Regions from separate parts of the Homo sapiens genome. Here region 1 is linked to region 2. Evidence: promoter capture Hi-C in 16 types of primary human blood cells and fetal thymus (Javierre and others, 2016). All regions are on one chromosome and are shown on one strand. Each heading gives the region's core, a stretch centred on a gene start or on the middle of the fragment in contact. The rest is flanking DNA. Distances are from core to core; before and after follow the strand shown.

What was found. The method cuts DNA at HindIII sites, captures the fragments that hold promoters and counts their contacts. A CHiCAGO score of 5 or more calls a contact.
Region 1: a contact is called between a fragment that was not itself captured here and the fragment with the promoter of H2BC4 in region 2, in 1 of 17 cell types (monocytes). The highest score is 5.9, in monocytes.

Annotation. Positions count from the first base shown.
Region 1 is chr6:27,115,060-27,120,876 of GRCh38, reverse strand. No RefSeq gene overlaps it. Among named protein-coding and RNA genes, the nearest start is that of H2BC11, 15 kb to the left of the region's middle. RefSeq lists an enhancer at 5,567-5,666. The HindIII fragment of the contact is 4,621 bases long and covers 1,904-5,817 here.
Region 2 is chr6:26,121,204-26,126,774 of GRCh38, reverse strand. H2BC4 (H2B clustered histone 4) reads left to right here and starts at 2,849. Exons shown (of 1, transcript NM_003526.3): 1 at 2,849-3,308. The coding sequence starts at 2,871. The coding sequence ends at 3,251. H2AC6 (H2A clustered histone 6) reads right to left here and starts at 2,603. Exons shown (of 1, transcript NM_003512.4): 1 at 2,085-2,603. The coding sequence starts at 2,542. The coding sequence ends at 2,150. RefSeq lists enhancers at 2,227-2,436, 2,527-2,666, 2,001-2,686, 1,494-2,693, 2,937-3,676 and 5 more and a silencer at 2,700-3,065. The HindIII fragment of the contact is 15,442 bases long and covers 1-5,571 here.

The DNA.
Region 1 (5,817 bases), core at 2,965-5,464, 990 kb before region 2:
GACAACCCTTGCACTGCAGTGTTACCTTTCTCATGAATCAGGTGACTACACACATGTTTCTGGCTCAATAGCAATCATTCTCATTACCATAGTTTAAGATAGGGGTTGGCAACTTATAGTGTAAGTTCTCCAACTGTGTTCTTCTTTATAATTGGCTTTTCATTTTCATAGAAGTGTTAGAATCAGGAAGAAATACTTCCTAACTCAGAGGTCAACAAACTATGGCCCACAGACCAAATATGACCCACCACCTGATTTTCAAAAAAAGTGTTATTGGAACACAACCACATTCACTTATTTGTGTATTATCTATGTCTACTTTCCCACCAGAACAGCAAAGTTGAGTTGTTGTGACAGAGACCTTATTGTCTGCACAGCCTAAAATATTTACTATCTGGCTTCTTAAAATATTGGTTAACTTAATTCGTTCCATAGGGCAACATCATCTTGATACTAGAACTGGACAAATATAAACAAAGAAACTTATTGACCAATATCCTTCATGAACAGAGATACAAAGGTTCTAAACAAAATTTTAGAAAATTCAAATTCAGTAATATGTAAAAAGAATAATACATCATGATCAAGTATTCCTGGCTTTTCCAAAAAATGTAGAGTTGGTTAAACATTAGAAAAATCAATCAACATAATATACCATATTAACAAACTAAGAAATCTCAACAGAGGAATGTTACAAGAAAAACGTGGGACTGTAACATTTCTCCCAAACTCAGAAGGAACCGAGAGACCAAAGTATGACTTGGACAAGTTCAGCTTGATAAGTAGATGAGTTTATTAGGACTTATATACAGGGCATTCCTGGACGGCAGCAAGACAGCTCTAGAGAGCTGTGTTGCCACCATCTCTAAGCTGCTTTTAAGCTAATGTTCTGGTCTTTGCCTACTGTGTTTAGGCAAGGAGACTGTTTTCCTTGATCAGATACTCTCTGGGATGTTTGGGTTCTCAGGGATACCTGCTCCTCAGCTGGGTACCATGGTCTTGGCTTATCACCCAGCCTTCAGGGTTCAAGTAGCAGATATCACCCTTAAGCAAGCTGGTGGAGGACTGTCACACTATAAGGCAGAAAAAGCATTTGACATAATTCAACATTCATTACTGATGAAAACTCTCAGTAAACTAGAAATAGAGGAGAACTTCCTAATGTGATAAAGTGTATTTACAAAAAATCTACAACTAAGATTATACTTAAAGACTGAATGTTTTCCCCCTAAGGTCGTAAACAAGATAGTCATGTTTGCTTTCACCACTTCTATTCAATGTTGGAAATTCTAGCTAGTGAAATTAGGGGAAAAAAGAAAGAGGAAAGAAAAGAAGGAACAATGGAAGGAAAGAAGAATCATCTAAATTGTGAAGATAGCACTTATTATTCTCAAATGACATGGCCATCTCATGTAGAAAATCAGAATGTACAAAAAGCTACTAGAGTTAATGGTTGAGTTCAGAAAGGCTGTAGGATGCAAGATCAATATTAAAAACTGCATTTGTATATACTAGTAACAATCAGAAATGTTTAAAAAGTTATAATAAAACTAAAATATGAAATACTTAGGGATAAGTTTGAGAAAAGATGTGAAATATCTATACACTGAAAACTACAAAATATTTCTGAGAGAAATTGAAGAAGACTTTAATACTTGGAGAGATAAAACTTGCTTATAGGCCAGAAAACTCAGTATTGTTAAGATAACAATTATTCTCAAACGAATACACAAATTCAACACTAACCCAGTCAAAACCCAGGAGGTTTCTTTGCAGAAATTGGCAATCTGATTCCAAAATTAATATGGAAATGAAAAGGATCTACAGTTGCCAAAACAACTCCGAAAAAGAACAAACCTGGATGGCTATCAACTACCTCATTTCACAGAATTATTATAAAGCTTCAGAAAGCCAGACAGCATGGTATGGTTGTAAGATAGGCAAGTAGGTCAATGGAACACAATAGAGAATCCAGAAACAAACCAACATGTATATAAACAACTGATGTTTGAAAGAGGCCCAAAGGCATCCTGGTGGAAAGGATAGTCTTTTCAAAAAGTAGTGTTAGAAAAATTGAATATCCACATGCAAAATATATATATATATAATATGTTATATATATATATGAACTTGTGTCTATACCTTGCAAAAATTAAAACAGTTCATACATTTAAACATAAAACCTAAAACTACAAGACCTCTACAAGAAAATGTAAGAAATTTTTATGACACTGGATTAGGCAAAGATTTCTTAGATATGACAGCAGAATTCATAAAAGAACAAACATGCATTGGATTTCTTCAAAATTAAAAATAGCTCTTTGAAAGTCAGTGTTAAGAAAATGAAAAATCAGGCCACAAACTCGGGGAAATACTTATAAATGCACTTACCTGATAAAGGACTGGTATCCAGAATGAACAATACTTAATATAGTACTCTCAACACTAAGAGGATAAACAACCCAATTAAATAAGTGGGCAAAAGATATGAACAGACACTTCAAAGAAAACATATTGTTAGCAAATAAGCACAGGAAAATACTTTGAATATCAGTCATTTGGGAAATGCAAACTAAAATCACAATCAAATACCACTACACATCTATTAGAATGCCTAAAATTTAAAAGACTGAGGGTGAAGTATTGGAAAGGACATAGCGGAATTGGAACTCTTATAAATTTGTCCTATGCATGTAAATACTATGGAAAACATTTTGACAGGTTCTTAAAAAGTTAATCATATAACTAATGTTGTTAATCATACTACCATATGATTCAGCCATGGCACTTCTAGGTATCTACTCAAGAGAAAAGGAAATATGTGTCCATATAAAGATTTGTACAAAAATACTCATAGCAGCTTTATTTGTATTAGTTAAATCTGGAAATAATCCAAATGTTCATCAATAGATGAATGGCTAAAATATTGTGGTATATCCCTGCAAAGAAATACTATTAAGCAACAAAAGAAACAAACTGTTGATTCAAAATATGTTACTCTTCTTTTTCTTTTTGTTTGAGATGGAGTCTCACTTTGTCACCCAGGCTGGGGCACAGTGGTGCAATCATAGCTCGCTGTAGCCTTGAACTTCTGGGTTCAAACCATCCTCCTGCCTCAGCCTCCTGAGTAGCTGGGACTATAAGTGTGTGCCACCACACCCAGCTAATTTTTAGAAATTTTTTTGTGGAGACGAGGGGTTGTGGGGGGGTGGTGCAGTTTCTCACTATTGCCCAGGCTGGTCTTGAACTAGTGGTCTCAAGTGATCCTTCCACCTAGGCCTCCCAAAGCACTGGGATTACAGTGTTAGCCACTGTGCCCAGCCTAAAATATGTTAGTTTTTTGTTGCTGCAAAATACATTAGCACAAACTTCAGGGTCTCAAAACAACATACGTTTATTATCTCAGGATAATAAATGATCAGGAGTCTGGGCATGACTTAGTTAGGTCTTTTGCTTAGGGTCTCACAAGACTAATTGAAGTGTCCCACCAGGATGCATTCTCATCTAGACACTTGACTGGGGAAGAATCCATGTCCAAGCTCACTCAGGTTGTTGGCGGAATTCATTTCCTTGCAGCTTTAGGTATGAGGACACCCGCTTCTTGCTGGTTGCTGGCTGGAAGACGCCTTTAATTCTGAGAGGCTGCCCGCACTTCCTAGAGGAGCTTGAAGCTCCTGGCCATGTGGACTTTCCCCACACGACCACTTACATCATGAAACCAGCAAGGACTGCTGAGTAAATAATTATGCTGAGTAAAAGAAACTGATCAAAATACAGTACATACTGGATTCTATTTTTACAAAACTAGAAAATACAAACTAATCTACAGTGACAAAGGTTAGATCAGTGGTTCCTTTGAGTTGGGGGACAAAGTGAGATAGGAGAAAGGTATTACAAAGGGGGACAAGTACATTTTAGAGGTGATAAGTTCACTTTTTTTTTTTTTTTTTTGAGACAGAGTGTTGCTCTGTTGCCCAGGCTCGAGTGCAATGGCGTGATCTTGGCTCCCTGCCATCTCTGCCTCCCGGGTTCAAGTGATTCTCCTGCTTCAGCCTCCTGAGTAGTTGGGATTACAGGCATATGCCACCATGCCCGGCTAATTTTTGTATTTTTAGTAGAGATGGGGTTTCACCATGTTAGTCAGGCTGGTCTCGAACTCCTGACCTCAGGTGATTCGCCCGCCTCGGCCTCCTGAAGTGCTGGGATTACAGGCGTGAACCACTGTGCCCAGCAAGTTCAGTGTCTTGATTAGGGTAACGGGTTCATATGAATACTTATGTCACACTCATTAACATGTATACTTTATGTGCAGTTTATCATATGCCAATTATACTTTAGCAAAACTATTTTTAAAAGCAAAAATGTAAAAAAAAAAAAAAGTAATTCTAAAAAAAAATGATAAAATTACACCCACAGCCCATTCTGTTGTTCTTCCTACTTCTGCCTCCCAATAGTGGCAGTCAGAGGGGAAGAAGGAGGACCCCAGGTCACAAGCAGCAGAGATGAATATATCTCAGTGGTTTGTGATGGTCTTGTCTTGTCTGAATGTACTCACATCTGAAACTCCATAGATCACAAAAGAATATGAAGTCATTGGCCATAACTGGATGCAGACTCATATTCACTGTGAAAATACAACAACATGGGATACGGAATAATGAAAAGAATTAAAAAATTTAATAATGACACTAACAAGAGTAAAACAACTTTAAATAATTGATCATTGGTCTCACTGTACTAAGTTCTTTATAAATAGTCATATACTTAATCTTGAAAAGAATTTTCCAAAGTGAGGTAGGAGATCAGCAGGACTTCTTTTCCAAGCACCGGTAATGACCATGCTGATCAAAAACAGGATGCAGTAAAAAAAAAACAACAAAAAAACCTCAGCAGAGTGGTGGCTCACACCTATAATCCCAGTGCTTTGAGAGGCTGAGGTGGGAGGATCCCCTGAGCCTAGAAGTTCGATATCAGCTGGGCAACATAGTGAGAACTCCATCCCTAAAAATGTAAGTTAAAAAAAAATTAGCGAGACATGGTGGCCTACATGTGTAGTCTCAGCTGCTTGTGGGGCTGAGGTGGGAGGATTGCTTGAGCCTGGGAGATCAAGGCAGCAGTGAGCTACGATTGTGCCACTGCACTCCAGCTGGGGCGACAGAGCAAGACCCTGTCTCAAAAACAAAAAACCCTGGCTGGGTGCAGTGGCTCACACCTGTAATCACAACACTTCAGGACGCTGATGTGGGCAGATCACCTAAGGTCAGGAGTTCGAGACCAGCCTGGCCAATATGGTGAAACCCCATCTCTACTAAAAATACAAAAATTAGCTGGGCATGGTGGCATGCACCTGTAATACCAGCTACTAGGGAGGCTGAGGCATGAGAATTGCTTGAACCCGGGAGGTGGAGGTTGCAGTGAGTCAAGATCGAGCCACTGCACTCCAGCCTGGGCAATAGAGCCAGACTCAGTCTCAAACAAAACAAAACAAAACAGCTGGCTGAAACCAGCAGATGGTGACAAAGCAACCTCTAGTTGCCCTCACAGCTCATTAGAATAAAGACACTCCCATCGGCGCCATGACAGTTTACAAATGCCATGGACATGACTCAGAAGTTACCCTATAGGGTTCTGGGAGCTCCCCCCACCCCTTTTCTAGAAAATTCTGAATAACACACTACTTAATTAGCATATAATTAATAGTGGGTATAAATATAGCTAGCCTGTGTGCTTTACTGTGGCTCTTTCTTCAGTTCTGGCTCCTGCTCTGACTCCTGCTCTGGACTGCTCCTGTTGCTGAACACTGCTCCTGCCCTTCCT
Region 2 (5,571 bases), core at 1,600-4,099:
CTTGCTGAGCCAGGTTCTTTTCATTTCAAGGTGAGCAAAAGCATACAAGGAAGAGATGGAGGTAGGAAGAGATTAAGCCCTAGGCCAAGGTCACACACCGATTGGGAGCTGGAATCAAAGGCAATTTGGTCAGTGAATAAAAAGGATTCCAAGGCCCATAAGGCAATTCTAACCTTAGGATCGAAATTCTCGGACATACAGGAAATGCTGGGGGGGGAAAATCCGGTCTTCTCAGCCCAAGAGCCATGTGAAACCAGACCTTCAAATCTGATGATTCTCAGCCCAGCTGCCCATTAGAATCGTTGTAATTTAAAAATACCCTCGGAAAATTCTAATATGTGGCTATCAAAGGTGATCATTTGCTTTTATGCCACTTTGTTTTCACCCAAATGGGACATCCAACCCTTTTCCTTTGAGAGTAGTTGTAGGGAAAGGAGGGGGTGGAGGGAGGGAAGAGCGGAAAAGGCTGGATCCGCCCTGAGCCGGTGTCAGTATCTGGGAAGTGGGAGGCGCGTCAGCAGTAAACAGCTTCTGCTAGGATTATTATCTCCTGCCACACACTCGGATTTGAAGGCTCCAAACGAAACAATGCAAAACGCTTCAGTGGAGTTCCAGAAGCGTTAGACTAAACGACTGGGTCTGTTTGGCCAGTCTGAGCAGCTGGGCGCAGATGCATAGGCAAGACTTAGCCCGCCTAGACTTTTCTGCCCACTTAATTCCGATCAAAGCAGAAACCGGCCGGGCGCGGTGGCTCACGCCTGTAATCCCAGCACTTTGGTAGGCAGAGGCTGGCGGATCACCTGAGGTCAGGAGTTCGAGACCAGCCCGGCTAACCTGGTGAAACTCCGTTTCTACTGGTGGCGGGCGCTTGTAATCCCATCTACTAGGGAGGCTGAGGCCGGAGAGTCGTCTGAACCCGGGAGGCGGAGTTTGTATGCAGTGAGCCGAGATCGCGCCACTGCATTCCAGCTTGGGCAACAGGAGCAAAACTCCGTTTCAAAAAAGCAAGCAAACAAACAAAAAAATGCAGAAACCGAGATCCGGAAGAAAACCTCGGCGAGATTCACAGAATCCAGGAAAATAGGTCTCTAGAAATTTGTCCATGGTCCCAGATCTCCATTTCTTGTGGGTGGGGCAGCTGTTACCAGATCCCTAGAAGCAAAGGTTTTTTTGGGGGACCGTGTCTCACTGTTGCCCAGGCTGGAGGGCAGTGGCACGATCTCGGCTTACTACAACCTCCGCCTCCCAGGCTCAAGCGACTCTCCTGCGTCAGCTTCAAGAGTAGCTGGGATTACAAGGTATGTGCCACCACGCCCAACTTATTTTTTTATTTATTATTTTTATTTAGTAGAGAGGTGTTTCACCATGTTGGCCAGGTTAGTGTCGAAGTCGTGACCTCAGGTGATCAGCCCCCTCGGCCTCCCAAAGTGGTAGGATTAGAGGGGTGAGCAGAAAGCAAAGGTTTTTGAGTGGCCACAGGCCCCACTCTATTTCCTTTTCTGCCTGTAATGGCAACCTAGACGCTTGAGCTTCTTAAAATACAAGAGTAAGTTGCATGTCAGGCACCGTTCTACATTAGGGACATTAGTCTGTTTTACAGACACCTTTCAACTCCCTGGTTAACTTTTAGGTAATATACTCTGCACTTTAGCAGGAATGGGACCTATAACTCTCACAGAATTAGGAAAGTGAGGCTGCCTACAGCCTAAATTGAGAAAAAAATAGACGGGGGACTAGTCGGAGGACCAAACAAGGTTACCAACACGTTAGAGTTTTGCCTTCAATTTACATTTTTAAAGTAATCACAACGAAGTGTTTAGATCACGAGGCATCCCTGCATGTAAACTGTTAGGCACTAACTATGGTCGATCTTACAAAGCATTAACTAGAATATTTCTTTAGAGTATGATAGTACGTAACTGACCTACTATTACATACAAACAGACCAACCTTTAGTAACAGCGCTCCCCAAAAACCGAAAAGCAGTAATACGCTTTGCTCAAGGTTGGCATAAAATTAACTTACCTTAGTGCCTTTTTTCCTTCTACCTACAAGCAGTGAGGTTAGCTCTTCCTTTGAAACGGTAGGGGGGCTCTGAAAAGAGCCTTTGGGTTTGATAGCGTTTCCGGGAGCTCAGATACCTGTCAAATCACTTGCCCTTGGCCTTGTGGTGACTCTCGGTCTTCTTAGGCAGAAGCACGGCCTGGATGTTAGGAAGGACGCCGCCCTGAGCAATGGTCACCCGGCCTAGCAGTTTGTTGAGCTCCTCGTCGTTGCGGATGGCCAGCTGCAAGTGGCGCGGGATGATGCGAGTCTTCTTGTTGTCGCGAGCCGCGTTGCCGGCCAGCTCCAGGATCTCGGCGGTCAGGTACTCTAACACCGCCGCCAGGTACACCGGCGCGCCTGCCCCAACCCGCTCTGCGTAGTTGCCTTTACGGAGCAGGCGGTGCACTCGGCCCACCGGGAACTGGAGACCAGCGCGAGAAGAGCGGGATTTCGCTTTGGCGCGAGCTTTGCCTCCTTGCTTACCACGTCCAGACATTGCAATCAGACAAAAATCACCAAAACCAGCGGCCTAAGCTCACGAGAAAACAAACAAAATCAAGAAATATGTAAAACATGGCCGCTTTTATAGGTAGTTCCTGGGGAGTAAATCCGACTTTTTGATTGGTCGGTAGCAAATGCTAGTCAGATAGCCAATAGAAAAGCTGTACTTTCATACCTCATTTGCATAGCTCTGCCCACGGATGACAACTGTGCAGTTTGTCTTCCAATTAACTAAGAGGTACTCTCCATCCCTCATTAGCATAAAAGCCCTATAAGTAGCAGAAATCCGCTCTTTACTTTCGACACATTTCTGGTGTTTTAAGATGCCTGAGCCAGCCAAGTCTGCTCCCGCCCCGAAGAAGGGCTCCAAGAAGGCAGTGACCAAAGCGCAGAAGAAAGATGGCAAGAAGCGCAAGCGCAGCCGCAAGGAGAGTTACTCTGTGTACGTGTACAAGGTGCTGAAACAGGTCCATCCCGACACTGGCATCTCTTCCAAGGCCATGGGCATCATGAATTCTTTCGTTAACGACATATTTGAGCGCATCGCGGGCGAGGCTTCCCGCCTGGCGCATTACAACAAGCGCTCGACCATCACCTCCAGGGAGATCCAGACGGCCGTGCGCCTGCTGCTTCCCGGAGAGCTGGCCAAGCACGCCGTGTCGGAGGGCACCAAGGCCGTCACCAAGTACACCAGCTCCAAGTAAACATTCCAAGTAAGCGTCTTAACACCTAACCCCAAAGGCTCTTTTAAGAGCCACCCAGATACCCACTAAAAGAGCTGTGGCCAGACGCCAAATTTTATTTGGCGGCGGAGGGGTATTAGAATATAGGAACTGGAGAGGGGTGGGGACAAGTGTTGCAGCTTAGAGAGGGACAAAGGGTCCTGAACCCGAAAGAAGCCAGCCATTAAAAATGGCTTTGGGGTCAATTCGTTGTGCTTAAATTTAAAATGGAGACAAGCGGCCATTTTGCTAACTCGGCGTTCCCGGAAGAAACCGCAGGCTCGCTTAGGTTTCAGACCCAGCTGTCTGTCCCTGTCTACGTCGCCAGGATCAACGGTTGCCGTAATGTCATAATTTCGCCACCAGCTTCTAGCCAATAGGCTGTCCTGTCATTTTAAATATTAACCAATCGAGGGAAAGCTGTTTTGAGACTCTGATTTACATAGCGGACCGGAGTGGGAACCTGGGCAGTAACTGCCTAAGGAAGGACTCCCCCTCTGTTTTCGTGGCGCACACCTTCGTAGTATACTGAAGGGTGTGTCTCCTGGGTTTCCAACTGCCCCGGTAATAGTCTTTTAACCTAATATGCGTCAGTTTTGATAACAACACTAAGGCAGTACAGAACTAAAGATGTAAGCACTGCGCCAGATGTTGCTTCATACATCTTATTCTATTCAACTGGTTTATTCAAGATTCAAATCAAATCAAATTTTGCTTGAATCCCAGTGCTCAGTCAGCCATAAATGGTGTGTTGCCTGATTGAAACTTAAAATCTCCGTAGGGGGCTTGTAACATGCAGACAAGTTTGAAAGTTGCTTTAGGAGAAGCCAACTCTTAACTGCTGGGTAAATTGACAAGCCTTCGAACACTGAACTGAAGGCCAGTAAGGACTAGGCGCTGGGTGGGGGAGAATGAAGAGGAGACGTCATTAAACTTAGCACATACACTGTATCTCCTAGAGGACTCTCCCTTCCTAGACAACTGCAGGCCGCTTTGTGGCCTGGGAAATTCCACATTCCCTTAAGTATTTTACTCATGGTCTTTTCCAGGTAAAGATTTTAAGATGAAGGGTTAGACGTAGTCTACCTATCTTTTTATTCAAGTCTAGAACACGTTTTTAGCACCTAGAAGTTTGCTTTCTCCATTAAAAACCGGGAATATACAATAAATAAAATTAGTGTTAAAGCAGATTTTTACAAACTTAAATACCATGTAATTTAGGTTACAGTTATTTAACATAAGGACTGTGTGATCTTAAATCTGCAATTTCTTTCACACCTGGGAAATAAACTAAGGCCTGTCTTTGGTGCCAGACAAGGCCTTATACTTGAACACTGCTGTGCAATCACAGGCTGCCTTGCCTAGATAACTTATCTGAGAAATTCTGATGAGAAATGAAATTTCCAGAGTCCCTCACAAGTAAATTTTTTTTTCTTTTTTTTTTTTTTTTTTGAGACGAAGTTTCTCTCTTGTTTCCCAGGCTGGAGTGCAATGGCGCGATCTTGGCTCACAGCAACCTCCGCCTCCCGGGTTCAAGCCATTCTCCTGCCTCAGCCTCCGGAGTAGCTGGGATTACAGGCATGCGCCACGACACCCTGGCTAATTTTGTATTTTTAGTAGAGACGAGGTTTCTCCATGTCGGTCAGGCTGGTCTCGAACTCCGGACATCAGGTGATCTGCCCGCCTTGGCCTCCCAAAGTCCTGGATTACAGGCTTGAGCCACCGCGCCGGGCCTAAATGGTTTTTTTTTTTTCTATGCCTCTAATGGACCTGGTCACTTATTCCCATTCAGACTGACCGCTCTCCTACCTGCCAACTAACTAATCAGTGTAACCAAAATCTGCAAACAAAATTCAGTATTCTTTCCCCGCCTTTTCCCCTTTCTCTTACATAGATTATGTTTTTGCCTGTGTTAGATGAAATAATTCTATTGCTTGTTCTCTCTTCTGTACAAGTACCCAGTAAGCAAATTATTAACTTCTTGGTCATTTATTTCTGAATTTTCCACCAAGACAGTGTTTATGTGAGTCATACAATAAGAACCAACAGAAATGTGTGTCTTGGAAACAGGTTGTCTATCCCTGGACCCTTTGAGTTTTCTGTTCACTTTCCTTTGGCTTTTGCATGCTAAAAGTTTATCGTCCGCGTTTGTTTGTTTTGGTTATTCTAATTGGACTTGGCTGATTGGTTGCATATTGGTGGCAGTAGTAGAATTTGAATTCTGGTTTTCTGGTCACATCATTAAGTGATTAGTCAGTGGAGAGGACAGGAAATCTGGTTTATTTATTAACCTTTTTTTGGG